Regions from separate parts of the Homo sapiens genome. Here all the other regions are linked to region 2. The links are contacts of gene promoters, found by promoter capture Hi-C in blood cells and fetal thymus (Javierre and others, 2016). All regions are on one chromosome and are shown on one strand. The core of a region is centred on a gene start or on the middle of the fragment in contact, and the rest is flanking DNA. Distances in the headings are between cores, read along the strand shown.

Evidence for each region. The method cuts DNA at HindIII sites, captures the fragments that hold promoters and counts their contacts. A CHiCAGO score of 5 or more calls a contact.
Region 1: a contact is called between a fragment that was not itself captured here and the fragment with the promoter of PNMA3 in region 2, in 13 of 17 cell types (M1 macrophages, naive CD4 T cells, naive B cells and 10 more). The highest score is 14.4, in M1 macrophages.
Region 3: a contact is called between a fragment that was not itself captured here and the fragment with the promoter of PNMA3 in region 2, in 5 of 17 cell types (naive B cells, non-activated CD4 T cells, total CD4 T cells and 2 more). The highest score is 8.8, in naive B cells.
Region 4: a fragment that was not itself captured here is called in contact with the fragment with the promoter of PNMA3 in region 2 in 9 of 17 cell types (M1 macrophages, M2 macrophages, naive CD8 T cells and 6 more); the score reaches 11.7 in M1 macrophages.

The regions. Positions count from the first base shown.
Region 1 is chrX:153,416,277-153,419,445 of GRCh38, forward strand. It overlaps ZFP92 (ZFP92 zinc finger protein), which reads left to right. Exons shown (of 6, transcript NM_001136273.2): 3 at 2,029-2,079; 4 at 2,397-2,523. The coding sequence starts at 2,047. Among named protein-coding and RNA genes, the nearest start is that of ZFP92, 6.4 kb to the left of the region's middle. The HindIII fragment of the contact is 2,125 bases long and covers 324-2,448 here.
Region 2 is chrX:153,054,121-153,057,719 of GRCh38, forward strand. PNMA3 (PNMA family member 3) reads left to right here and starts at 2,350. Exons shown (of 2, transcript NM_013364.6): 1 at 2,350-2,518; 2 at 2,830-3,599. The coding sequence starts at 2,936. The HindIII fragment of the contact is 3,087 bases long and covers 777-3,599 here.
Region 3 is chrX:153,397,478-153,400,747 of GRCh38, forward strand. It overlaps PNMA6E (PNMA family member 6E), which reads right to left. Exons shown (of 2, transcript NM_001367770.1): 2 at 1-1,443. The coding sequence starts at 1,372. Among named protein-coding and RNA genes, the nearest start is that of PNMA6E, 2.2 kb to the right of the region's middle. The HindIII fragment of the contact is 319 bases long and covers 1,144-1,462 here.
Region 4 is chrX:153,346,235-153,349,772 of GRCh38, forward strand. ZNF275 (zinc finger protein 275) reads left to right here. Exons shown (of 4, transcript NM_001367757.1): 4 at 585-3,538. The coding sequence ends at 1,741. Among named protein-coding and RNA genes, the nearest start is that of MIR12129, 13 kb to the left of the region's middle. RefSeq lists an enhancer at 1,064-1,564. The HindIII fragment of the contact is 2,700 bases long and covers 653-3,352 here.

The DNA of each region.
Region 1 (3,169 bases), core at 136-2,635, 360 kb after region 2:
CTAGGTTAGATTACTCTCTTGCAGCCCTCAAATAATCACAGGATGGCATTTTGATATGTGATACCCCTTTCTCTCTCAAGTCTTTAACCTAATGGTTTAGCATCCATTCCACCTTCAGGGATTCAGAACATCAGCTTATGTATCTTGGACCAATGTTGGCTGGCAGGTCATCATGGATGATAAGGGACTTTGGAGCAATTTAAATGCCAGGCAAATACTGTGGCTGTCCTTCTCTATGCTCCTGGGATCCTGTGCCCTCTCCCTCTCTCCTGTGGCGTTGTTGGCACAAACAAACTGTAGTCACCCATTGGAACATCAATAAAAGCTTGGAGACCAACAAAATGGAAATCCCAGGCAGAGAAGCAGAGAAACCAGGAAGTAGCTGGTGGGGGCGTGTGCTGAGAAAGGAACAATCTTTTACCCCCCTGTCCTAGTCCTCCTGTGTTGCTGTACAGGAATACCAGAGGCTGGGTAATTTATAAAGAGAAAAGGTTGCTTTAGCTCAGGATTTTGCTGGCTGGAAAGTTCAAGACTGGGCGTCTGCATCTAGTGAGAGCCTCAAGCTGCTTCCATTCAGGGTGGGAGTCTAAGGGGAGCTGGTGGCGCACGGCATGTGCAGAGATCACGTGGCCAGAGGGGACGCAAGATGAGGGGAGGAGCCAGGCTCTTTTTAACAATCAGCTCTCACAGAGCAAGGACTCACTCACCCCTGAGGGAGGGCATTAATCTGTTCATGAGGGACTCACCCCCACGACCCAAACAACTCCCATGAGGCCCCACCTCCAACACTGGGGATCAAATTGCAACGTGACGTGTGGAGACTCAGATATCCAACCCACAGCACTGACTGCCATCTGGCATTGAGAACTGCTGTGGAGAAGTCCTGAGGCCGAGGTGAATTTTGTCCACTTTGTCAATTTCATGTTCCCTACTCTTAGCCTGAAACTCAACTTCCTGCTGTCCCTCCAGGGTCCCACGTGGTGTCATCCTCTGCGCCTGTTCCCTAATTTTCAGCACCACGAATGCCAAATGCAGGACCATCTGAGGGCCAGGGTATGTGCTGTGCTGTTGGCTGGCTACTCTCTTTGCCACTTGCAGCCTCCAGCTCTCTGCCTGAATGTCACCCCTTCAGAGAGCACCCCCACTACTGTAGGTCCCCCTTGATTCTGCACTGCCCTCACCTCTCTTCTCTTCATTTTGCAAAGGGAGGTCGTACATGTGCATTTGGAGTTTCCTTAAGAATCCCGACCTGAGGGAAGGGGATTGGCAGTGGAGCTTCCAGGAATGGCTGGAAAGTTGGGGTCAGGGGACGCTGGCCACATGGGGAGAGAGCTAAGAAAAGCAGCAAAAGAAGAAAAGAAAGGAAAGAAGGAACGGGCTCCCTCGAAAGCCTGGTCAGGCGAGCGCCAGTATGGAAGTGGGCATGGCACCTCAATTGCAGAGAGTGTCCTGGGTTTGAATGGTGCCCCCCAAAAAGACATATTGAAGTCTCAACTCCTGGTATCTGTGACTGTGACCTCATTTGGAAAGGGAGACTTTGCAGCTGTAATCAAGGTAAGATGAGGTCATACTGTAGGAGCAGGGTGGGCCCTAATCCAGTGATTGGCATTCACAACAGACCAGGGAAATTGGGACACAGACACACACAGAGAGAGGATGGCCACACGAAGACAGAGGCCAAGAAGGATTGCTGGAAACCACCAGAAGCCGAAAATGGCGAGAAAGGGGCTTCAGTGGAGCGGGGGCCTGCCAGCACCTGGATCTCGGACTTCTGGCCTCCAGAACCGGGAGAGAAAAATGTGTCTTGCTTGAAGGCCCCGATTTGTAGTACTTATTATGGCCGCCCCAGGAAGCCATACAGAAGGTCTGATGGTGAGGGGCCCTTGGTGAAGCTGCAGGAGTGAGAACACCACAGGTGGCCGCTGTGCTTATTTCACAAGAAAAACTAAGCAGGGTCTTCAAGCAGGTCGCAGATTGGCTGCTCCAGGCTGCCCTGGGCTCACAGGGGGCTCTTTGCATTTCCCTTAGCTCCTCTGCGCCCTGGTGATGGCAGCCATTCTCCTGACCACGAGACCCAAGGTGAGTGGTGGCCCCTCTCCCTGGCCTCTCCCCCTGGCAGCCCCCGTCTGCTGCCTCCTCATGCCCAGGCCTCTCCAGCTGGGCTGAGCTTAGGCTGCCCTTAGCATCGTTTTCCTTTCCTGAGGCGCACAATCTGGGCTTCCTGCCTCTGTCGGCTGTGCTGCCTGTTTTTCTGTCTTACAACTCGTGCAACCCGAGTCTTTCCACCTGCTGAGCCTTCCAGGGCTCCCCCCGCCCCCCACATTTTGTTTCTGTCAGCTCCTCCAGGGGCCCAGGGGGTTGAATTCCCCTGTGGCCACAAGAATGCCTTATTTTAGGTGCCAGTATCTTTTGAGGATGTGTCCGTGTACTTCACAAAGACAGAATGGAAGCTTCTGGACCTCAGACAAAAGGTCCTCTACAAGCGGGTGATGCTGGAGAACTATAGCCATTTGGTGTCACTGGGTAAGTGATCCCTCCACGACATACACACACCCAGTCCCACCTACTCTGTCTCTGGGCTCAGTTTATTTCCGAGATTCCTGTTTGTCGGTTGCTATGAGCCCAAGAATAAATGCATTTCTCCATCAGACCAGTAATGCCAGTAATCCATTGCAGGCCAGCCGCCATCTCAGTAGGATGGTTTTTAGCTAAGTGGTCTGGACCTGTAAATGTTTTAGGTAAATGCGTTGGCCTGTAAGTTTCAGTACCAGTCTTATCTTGTGTATAAAATCGTGGATCGACTAAAGGTCTTTCTACTCAAAAGAGAGATGCAAATTCTACTGGAATATTTATGTGCACTCTTTTAGACTTAATTCGTTTCTATGACGGCTGCATTTTGCATCCGTTCCACTTTGTAAAATTTAGCAACATCTTTTCCTTCCATTGACCAGGGAGGTCCCACATAAGGACAAAGTGTAGACTTGGATTTCAAGCCTTGAGAAGTCCCGGGAGGAGCTGGGGCAGCTTGGAGCACACTGCTCTCCCCCTTCCATGCCAGTGCACACCCACTGCCGGAAGGGGCAGCAATTTTGCCAATTAAAGGGCAAAAGCAGGAGTCACAGGCTAGACGGATGGGGGCCGGAGCACTCAGGAAGGTTTTCAGGTGGGG
Region 2 (3,599 bases), core at 1,100-3,599:
GAATAGTATGATATCATTTCTGCCAAGTGTAAAAGAGACAAAGACAATTTTTTAGGGATATAGTCATTTGCAGAAAAAGCACGAAGAAATGCACATGGAGGACAAGAGTGGGAGACAACAGGGAAGGAATCTGCAGGCGCTTACCCTCACTGGCAGTGTTTTATGTCTTCATCCAGTTACTACATTCAGGAGTACTGGATGTACTTTTTAAGTACGTTTTGTATGTTAAATATTGCAGAATGTATTTTATAAAGTATTTAATTACCAGAAACTCTTTAAAAAATTCCCAGGCCTGTTTCAGACTCAGCAGATCAGATTGCAGAGGTGGGGCCCATGAATCTGCCCCTTTTGTGACCCCGATAGTCACTACTGGTCTAAGCCAGGGCAAGGCCACCCCGGTGGAGGTTGCTTCCTTCATGCTGTATTATGTTTTTCACTTTACAAGTAATAATGTTTATCCATCAGTTCCCCAACTTTGGTGCTGCTGTGTTATCTACCATGCAAGGAGATGGGGAAGCAAAAGTAATTAAGACATTTCCACTGGTTTCAAGGGCAAAGGTTAACTCCAATATAAAGGAGTTCTAAAACTTTTCAAATTGGACATATTCACATCTATTGTCTTGATACCAGTGTTTCCAAATCCTTTTTTCCCAATGCCCAGAACATCCACAGATCACTGCGTCTGTCTGGGAACTTCACAGGCTTCTTTCCGGAGACATTCCAGACACGCCCCTCTGCCTTGGCATGAATACTTGGCATCTCCCCTTGACATCTCAAGCTTTGTCATTTACTCACTGTGTGACCTTGGGCCAGTAGTGTCCCTTCTCTGAACCTCTGTTTCCACCCCTGCAAGTTGGGCAGATGAAGGTTCAGTTTGAAGCTGGTTGAGCCCTTGGAGTGACAAAGCAAGGGACTGTGAATGGACAAAAATGAGAGAAATAAATTCTAATAGGCATGAAGCAACCAGGGGAGAAATAGTCCCAATTCTACCCAAAGACTGATGGGCACTAATTTAGAATCCAGTCTCAATTCTACCTTCAATACGGTGTGTGACCTTGAAAATGTCTCTTAATCTCTCTGAGCCTCATGAGTCAAATCAGGATAATGTTAATACCTGCTTCAGAGTTCTGGTGAGGAGCAAATGAAATAACTCCTGTAAAGATGTTTCAGGAATTCTGTCTGACCAGGAAAAAGCCCTTGGGGCCATTTCTTCTTGGTCCCTGACAAGTGCCAGGCTGACGAGCAGAACTCAGGGTGGGGCAGGAAGTCAGTGGACAGTTTTGTGCCCCACTCACTGCAAGGTGGCCTCCCAGACTTGGCTGGATGGGTGAACCTGGCCTGAAAATCAACCACAAGCCCCTTTTCGTTGTGTTTGGAGAGGAGCTGAAGCTGTGTGAATAGGAGTTGAGCATGCGGCTGGCAGAGCAGGCAGGACCCACAGAACACCTGGGCCCACTGCCTGAGGGACAGTCACTCCCTTCTTCATTTGGCTGCTGCCCTGGGATCAAACGGATACAATAGAACCCACGGCGCACGGCTGCCAAGGAAGGGCAGGCCCAAGGGATTGGGCTCCAAGTCCTGGAAGTGGTTTCCCAAGTCACTAGATTTGCAGCGCACAAAACCGGAAAGGTCCCGGTAAACCTGTCCACTGGCACCTGGGCAGCGAAGCGCTTTGGCCGGAGGGCCTCAGGTCCCAGCAGCGGGATGGACAGCGGGGAGATGGCTGACCCTCCTTGGGGTGGTGTGCGTGACCTGCATGAGTGCCTGGGGCATCTCCTGCACGGAATGGCACCCGCACCAGGTGCCCCTGGCCTCGCCAGCCAGAGGACCAGTCCTGGACGGGGAGGGGGAGGACAAGAGCAGGTGAACAGGCCCCAGAACCCGGCTCCCTGACCCTGGCCATAATGCAGAGCTGCCTGGCGCACCTCAGACCACTCCCTGGCCCTCTGGTGGGCACGCCGGGGTGCAGACCCCTCGCCCCGCTGGCACCTCCGTGGCACGTGCGGGAGGGGCAGGAGCCGGGACCAGGAACCGCTGTGGTGAGAGCCAAAGGCACGGGGACTGGCCGCCACAGACCTTTGGCCACCGCAGTGGGGATGGGGGTGGGCGGGCGCTTGTGTGCCCGGGGGCCCGGGGGCCCCCGTGGCGGGGGGGCTAGGGGAGAGGAGCAGGTGACGTCACCCGGGGACCTGGGGCCCCCAGGGGCGGCGGCGAGAGCCCGACCTCGTGACCCGTCCGCGCCAATGGCCCTGCGGTCTCCCGGACGACGCGGAGGGGTCCGCGCTGCACCGCCGCCGCGCCCCCGCCCCGTGTCCGCACTGCAGAGAGCCGCGGCGAGCAGGCGCCGGCGCACTGGCCCACGTGCTGCGCGAGCGAGGGAGAGCCACAGTCTGAGCGAACGTCCGCGCTGGGAGCCAGGGGTGCCCGACCCCCGTCCGCCGCCGCCGCCGCCGCCGCGCATAGCCCCCGGAGAGCCCTCTGGGGACCCCGACCAGAAGGGACCTTGCCCTGGGAGAAGGTAACAGACCCACCTGGGGAGGGAGACGCTGGGCCCCGGGAGACTCCGCCGCCCCTCGCCTGTCCGCCCTATCAGAACTGAAGCAGCCTGCAGGGCAGGGGTCCAGGGTCCTGGGGCAGCGCGGGGAGGGGGCTGAGGCCCGCAGAGACCCCACGGGGGGTGGGGGTGGGGGGCTGGGCAGGGGCGGGGCCTGGCTGCAGAGGCGCCGCCCGGGGAGGAGGGCGGCTGGGGGTGGGGGTGGGGGTGGGCGTGGATGTGGGCGTGCGGAGAGGTGGGCATTAACCTCGCTCTCGCCCTGCTCGCATTCACAGGCTGTGGAGACCTGGGCCTTCTGCGATCACCCTAGGAGTTGATCCAGATATGTGCCTCACGCCCTGATCACTCCCCCCAAATTAGTATCCGCAGAGATTCGAGGACATGCCGTTGACCTTGTTACAGGACTGGTGTCGGGGGGAACACCTGAACACCCGGAGGTGCATGCTCATCCTGGGGATCCCCGAGGACTGTGGCGAGGATGAGTTTGAGGAGACACTCCAGGAGGCTTGCAGGCACCTGGGCAGATACAGGGTGATTGGCAGGATGTTTAGGAGGGAGGAGAACGCCCAGGCGATTCTACTGGAGCTGGCACAAGATATCGACTATGCTTTGCTCCCAAGGGAAATACCAGGAAAGGGGGGGCCCTGGGAAGTGATTGTAAAACCCCGTAACTCAGATGGGGAATTTCTCAACAGACTGAACCGCTTCTTAGAGGAGGAGAGGCGGACCGTGTCAGATATGAACCGAGTCCTCGGGTCGGACACCAATTGTTCGGCTCCAAGAGTGACTATATCACCAGAGTTCTGGACCTGGGCCCAGACTCTGGGGGCAGCAGTGCAGCCTCTGCTAGAACAAATGTTGTACCGAGAACTAAGAGTGTTTTCTGGGAACACCATATCCATCCCAGGTGCACTGGCCTTTGATGCCTGGCTTGAGCACACCACTGAGATGCTACAGATGTGGCAGGTGCCCGAGGGGGAAAAGAGGCGGAGGCTGATGGAATGCTTACGGGGCCCTGCTCTCCAGGTGGTCAGTGGGCTCCGGG
Region 3 (3,270 bases), core at 53-2,552, 340 kb after region 2:
AAGACAGCACCTGCTGTAGTCGCAGGTAATTGGCCAAGGCTGGGCAGACGGCCCCCTTCTCCACAGCCCTCTGCAGCAGGCCTTCCAGGCGCACCACGAAGGCAAACAGCCCCTCCTGGGGCCCCTGCGTGCAGGTCAGGAACTTCAGCCTCGAAGTCATTCGAGTGTCCTGGTTCCTAAATACCTGCCCCAGCGCCGCCAGGCAGTCCAGCGCGGACAAGTTGGTATCTTCCTCCAGGAGGCCGCTCACGACTTCCAGGGCCGGGCCGCCCAAGCTCTCCAGCAGCCACCTCTTCTTCTCCCTTTCCGACGCATGGCACCACAGCTGCAGCATATCCTTGGCATGCTCCACCCAGCTCTCAAAGGACTCTTCCTCGCAGCCTGGCTGCTCCCTCCTGGAAAAGGGTCTCAATTCCCGGTAGGCCCTGTTTTCCAGCACAGGCTGTAGGGTGCAGCGCCAAGGCTGGACCCAGGCTTTTGTTACATTTGTCCCTCCTGCTTCACCCACAGCTCCTGCCTCACCTGCAGCTCCTGCCTCACCCACAGCTCCTGCCTCACCTGCTGCTCCTGCCTCACCCACAGCTCCTGCCTCACCTGCTGCTCCTGCCTCACCTGCTGCTCTTCCCTCACCTGCGCCTCCTGCCTCACCTGCTGCTCCTGCCTCACCTGCGCCTCCTGCCTCACCTGCTGCTCCTGCCTCACCTACACCTCCTGCCTCACCTGCGCCTCCTGCCTCACCTGCTGCTCCTGCCTCACCTACACCTCCTGCCTCACCTGCGCCTCCTGCCTCACCTGCTGCTCCTCCCTCACCTGCTGCTCCTGCCTCACCTGCGCCTCCTGCCTCACCTGCTGCTCCTGCCTCACCTACACCTCCTGCCTCACCTGCGCCTCCTGCCTCACCTGCTGCTCCTGCCTCACCTGTTGCTCCTGCCTCACCTGTGCCTCCTGCCTCACCTGCTGCTCCTACCTCACCTACACCTCCTGCCTCACCTGCGCCTCCTCCCTCACCTGCAGCTTTTGCTACTGCTTGACCCTGGGGCTGTGCAGGAAAACTGGGCATATCCTGAAACTCAATAACAGGTACTTGGGGCAGGAAGATCACTTTCCAGGGCCCCCCATTGCCTGGTATTTGATGGGGAATCAAGCTTCGGTTTAAATACTCAGCGAACTCCACCAAGGCTGCCTTGGCCCCGAGCTCCTTTCTGAAGTGCTTGGTGAGTACTCGGTACCTGCCCAGGGGCGACAGGGCAGCCCGCACGGCCTCCTGGAACTCATGTTCCTTGCAGTCATCAGGGATACCCAGGATGAGCAGGGAGCGCTCTGCGTTCGCACCCATCCACCTGCACCAGTCCCGAAGCATCGCCAGAGCCATCGCAGAGGACTTGAGGGAGGGAGCCTGATCAATCAGGAATGTGTGCTGACTGTTGCAGTCTCCGACACAGCCTGTGAGTGCAAAGAGAGAAGCTTGTTTGTGCCAAACACTCACTCCCACCACTCATCTGCCCCTACGTGTGTGGGGGTGAGGGGGCAGGGCTGGAGTTCCTCTGCCTCCTTGTTTTGTCGCTTTGATTTTAGTGAAATTTTGATGGCAAAATTAAATTTATTTGCAAGATACAGGGCTAGTCACATTTTCTATGCTACTTGGTGCCATTTGTAGTAAGTTACTTTTTTTCCCCCACAAAGGAATTGGGAAGCTTATCTCAGTTTTCAAAACTTTTGATAAAAACTTGTTCACAATATTCCCTCTTTATCTTTTTAATGTCTATATGATCTGTAGTAATATCCTGTCCTTCATTCCTGATATTGATTAGTGTTCATTCTCTCTTGTGTGTTGTGTGTGTGTGTGTGTGTGTGTGTGTTGTTTTTTGTTTGTTTGTTTGTTTTTTGAGACAGGGTCTCACTCTGTCACCCAGGCTGGAGTGCAGCAGCTTGATCTCGGCTCAGTGCAGCCTCGACCCCCTGAGCTCAAGCGATCCTCCCACCTCAGCCTCCTGAGTAGCTGGGACTACCGGCACATGCTAACACACGTGGTTAAATTTTTTGTACTTTTTGTAGAGAAGGGGTCTCACTATGTTGCCTAGGCTGGCCTTGAACTCCTGGGCTCAGGCAATCCTCCCGCCTCAGCCTCTCAAAGTGCTGGGATTACAGGCATAAACCACTGTGCCTAGCCCCCTCTCATCTTAATTAGTCTTGCTAGGGTTCATTAATTTTGGTACTCTTTAAAAAGCCTAATATCGGGGTTTACTGATTGTCCTTTTTATCTCTGTTATTTCTTTATTTGACTCATTCTGTGTTTACTTTTGCTCTTTTTCGAGCTTCTTTAAATGGACTGTTCGGCCATTGATTTTATGTTCTTTTTTTCTGTTATGAGCACTGAAAGCAAGAAATTTTCCTCTGACCACTTCCTTCCTTCCAAATGGCTAGTAATTTGGGTAAGTTGAATGTTTTGTGCAGTTTGAAATATCTTGTAAGTTCCTTGGTGATTTCATCTTTGACCCATGGATTTCAAAATATCTAGACATATGTTATTGTTATTAATTTCAAATAAAATTCCACTGTGATCAGAGAACTTATGAAAACGTGCGATCCTTTTCAGTTTCTGAAGATTTTTAAATGGCTCGACATATGGTCTATCTAAGTGAATGTACAATTTGCCCTTGTCATGAATCCGTATTTTCTACAGAGGCCAAGGTCTGCCCCCTCCAACCACTGCAACTCCTGTCGCCATTCCCCACGAAGAGGCGACCTGAAGCCTTTCCAATTCCACCTGTAGGGGGCCAGGCTCCTCACGGCACTGCCACGCCGACAGCCTCCAGGGGGCGCTCACCGTCGCCTGTACCACTGGCCGCCAGGCAGCCTCCGGCTCCGCACCCCGTGCACCCTTAGGCATTGGCCCTCCTTCCAGCCCATCCCCCACCGCACACCGGGGACAGTCCCTTCCTGCCCCCAACGTGCCCTTCCACACTGGGCGCCCCCTAAACCCAGCTGGCAGCACTCCAGTCTAGCCCCGGGCAGCAGGGCGTCCCACGTGCTTAGACATGAGCCTCCCTCTGTGGCCTCCCCACAGCCAGGGGCCCGACAATCCCGCCCTCCACCCCCAAGTCAGGAGCCCCCATAGCCCACAGAGGCAGGGCACCCTCCGCTCTGGTCGGCCCTCCACCGGGCTTAGGAATCACCTCTGCCCTCACCCACCCAGCCCTAGGACCTGACCACGGCACCCGCCAGGGGCCGTCCCCTCTCGCGCCTCAGACCCAGGCTGGGCCGCCCTCC
Region 4 (3,538 bases), core at 753-3,252, 290 kb after region 2:
TAAGGTTGGGAGGGCTCAGCTGAGCTTTTGGGGTTCTAGTTAGTGTTTGGGGCCCCAGCTGAGCTCTTGACGGTGAGGTTAGGGTTGAGAGGATCAGCAGGGCCCTTTGGAGATTCGGGTTATGTTTGGAGATCCCAGCTGAGCTCTTGGAGTTACAGTTAGGGTTGGGGGTCCCAGCTGAGCTTTTGGAGTTCTAGTTAGGGTTTGGGGCCCCAGCTGAGCTCTTGATGGTGAGGTTAGGTTGAGGATCAGCAGGGCCCTTTGGAGATTCAAGTTATGTTTGGGGATCCCAGCTGAGCTCTTGGGGTTGAGGTTAGGGTTGGGGGACCCAGCTGAGCCTTTGGGGACGTGTGTGGCTGCTCTCTGGTCACAGAAGGGGTGACCTCCTCAGCACCACTGTGGTAGAGAGTGTCCAGAATGAGGTCCCTCTGCCCCTGGCTTCTGCAGTCCTTGCTTCTGGTGGCTTCCGGGCCCAGGCCCCGTGCTCAGTGGCTGTCTCAGAAAGAAAAAGATTCTTGACAAAGGAGAGGCCCTTCCCTCCTTCATCCTCTGCAGACTACACTGCCTTGTGTTTATCGTTTCAGAAAGCACCTCCGCGACCCGACACCAGATGAAGGGGGAAGATGCCCAGCCACAGGAGATGGCGTCCACAAGCTTCCCAAGGGCCAGTGGTCCCAGTCCTGAATTCAGACAGCACGGGGACTCTGACGGGAAGAGAGGGAGCCCACAGAATCTGCCCATAGAACATCATTTTGCTTGTAAAGAGTGTGGGGACACCTTTCGGCTTAAAGTCCTGCTTGTCCAGCACCAGAGAGTCCACAGTGAGGAGAAGGGCTGGGAATGTGGCGACTGCGGGAAGGTCTTTAGGGGGGTGGCGGAGTTTAATGAGCACAGGAAAAGCCACGTAGCTGCGGAGCCCCAGCCCGGCCCCAGTAGGGCCCTGGAGAATGCCGCGGAGAAGAGGGAGCAGATGGAGAGGGAGGCAAAGCCCTTCGAGTGCGAGGAGTGCGGAAAACGGTTTAAGAAGAATGCAGGCCTGAGTCAGCATCTGAGGGTCCACAGCAGAGAGAAGCCCTTTGATTGCGAGGAATGCGGGCGGTCGTTCAAAGTCAACACCCACCTCTTCCGACATCAGAAACTTCACACTTCGGAAAAGCCTTTCGCCTGCAAGGCGTGCAGCAGGGATTTCCTGGATCGCCAGGAGCTTCTCAAGCACCAGCGCATGCACACTGGCCACCTGCCCTTCGACTGCGACGACTGCGGCAAGTCCTTCCGAGGGGTCAACGGGCTGGCCGAGCACCAGCGCATCCACAGTGGGGCCAAGCCATACGGGTGTCCCCACTGCGGCAAGCTCTTCCGAAGGAGCTCGGAGCTCACCAAGCACCGGCGGATCCACACGGGCGAGAAGCCCTACGCCTGCGGCCAGTGCGGCAAGGCCTTCCGCCAGAGCTCCAGCCTCCTGGAGCACGCACGCATCCACAGTGGCGAGCGGCCCTACGCATGCGGCGAGTGTGGCAAGGCCTTCCGTGGGCCCTCTGACCTCATCAAGCACCGGCGCATCCACAGCGGACTGAAACCCTATGAGTGCGACAAATGCGGCAAGGCCTTCCGCCGGAGCTCCGGCCTCAGTCGCCACCGGCGGATCCACAGTGGGGCGCGGCGCTGCGAATGCAGCCAGTGTGGCCGCGTGTTCAAGAGGCGCTCGGCACTGCAGAAGCATCAGCCAACCCACCACGAGTAGAAACGCCCTGTGGTCCCGCGGGACAGGGACGGAGTCCCCAGAGGGGATGGCAGAGTCAAAGGAGATGAACAGTTTTGTAGCGCTTATATATTTTGTCTTCCAAAAGGTTGAGACCGATTTATACTGCCACCAGCAATTTATAAGTGTTACGTTATGCCCATCAAGAGTAGCTTGTACCATTTAACTTAGTTTGGCTAGTTTAACTGGTAGGAAGTACCATCAAGGTATTTCAGTCCACATGCCTTGAATCCAAGAATGAGAGAGGACAAATCTGGATGTGGGGTAGGGAGGGGCTTAGAGGTCATCAACTCCAAGCTCCCCCCGCCCCAGAGAAACACACAGAGCTGTTCCACGATGGCGTCCTCATAATGTGATCCCAGCTTTCCTGAAGAGAACGTTGCCCTCATGATTTTTGGCCTACTTGAATTTATAAATTTTTAGGGATGTAAATAGAACACTCAAATGTCTTAAAATATTTAATTTATTAATTTAGTTATACATACATACTGTAAATCACATATTATATAAAATAATATATTAATTTAGAAAATACCCCATTTTTGCCACCCTCCCTTTCACGAAATCATTTTACTCTGACTCCTCACCGTCTTCACCAACATGGGAACCCTGTTTGAGTCATCAGACAGTTTCAAGACACACCCAGTCACTTCCATCCGAGCTCTGCACGGTCGCTCAGTGACGATCCCTTCATGAGGCTCTCATTAGAAATTTTCTCCCAAGCCATAAGACCATATTTGCAGAACATTAGGACGATTTCTCTTGTCGTTTTTTAATCTGTCCTGTGACTGTACAATATAACCACTTAAGGTCATACTTTTTCAAACAACCTTTAAACGTCTTTTCTTTTAAAGCACCCAAAATGTCATTGTGAGGCCAAACGCCTAGTAACAGTTACTGAATCTGGGTTAAATGTCGGTATCTTTTTTTCTTAAACCATTTCAATTTGGTGTCCCCTATACATATCCAAAACTAGCATCGATTGGGGTTGTTTTGAACTAATGGGTCTTGTCCTCAAGCAGCACTATTTTGTTCAAAATAAAATAGTTGAGAGCATGCCCCTAAGAAGAGATACATCTCAAGGACTCAAGTGCAGGGTGACGCCTCCTTTTGGAAATGAGCCTCTCCTGGTATCAGGCCTAGATGGTACTTCTCCAGCCTTCCGTTTCTTGTTCTATAAAACAGGGGTGATCACAGCACCTACCTCCGAAGGTTATCACGAGGACTGCCATCGTGGCTGCAGAGTGCCAGGACCACCGGCCTGGTATGGAGGTACACACTCAGTGAAGGCCATCTGCTGTCATTGTCATTGTCATAGTTATTGCCGTCATTCTGTGGCTTGTCAATTCCAGAACTGGGGATAGACCCCAGGCCTCCTGACCACCAGTCTCATCTTTCTCTTATGCGATGACTTAAATGGTGTTTCTGTTTTTTGCATGCAAATGGTCCGTTCATCTCCTTTGACTAGTTATCAACTTACCTTCGGATATATTAACTTTATGTAGCAGTTCTTTCTATATTGATGGTGATGTTCTCTTTTCCAATTTTATTGCTTTGCTTTTTGTAGCAGTTTTATTACGTTTTTGTTGTGAAAGCTTTTAATTTTTACATATCCAAGCATTCATTTTTTGTCCACTCAGTCATAACTTTCATTGCTTCTGTAGCTAGATATGATGACATTTTCTCTAGAATTTTAATTACAAACAAAAAGCTGCAACCCCAGCCCATCAGAAGGTGAGTACACCAGGTGGGCAGGCTGGATGGAAATGGGCCAGAGAA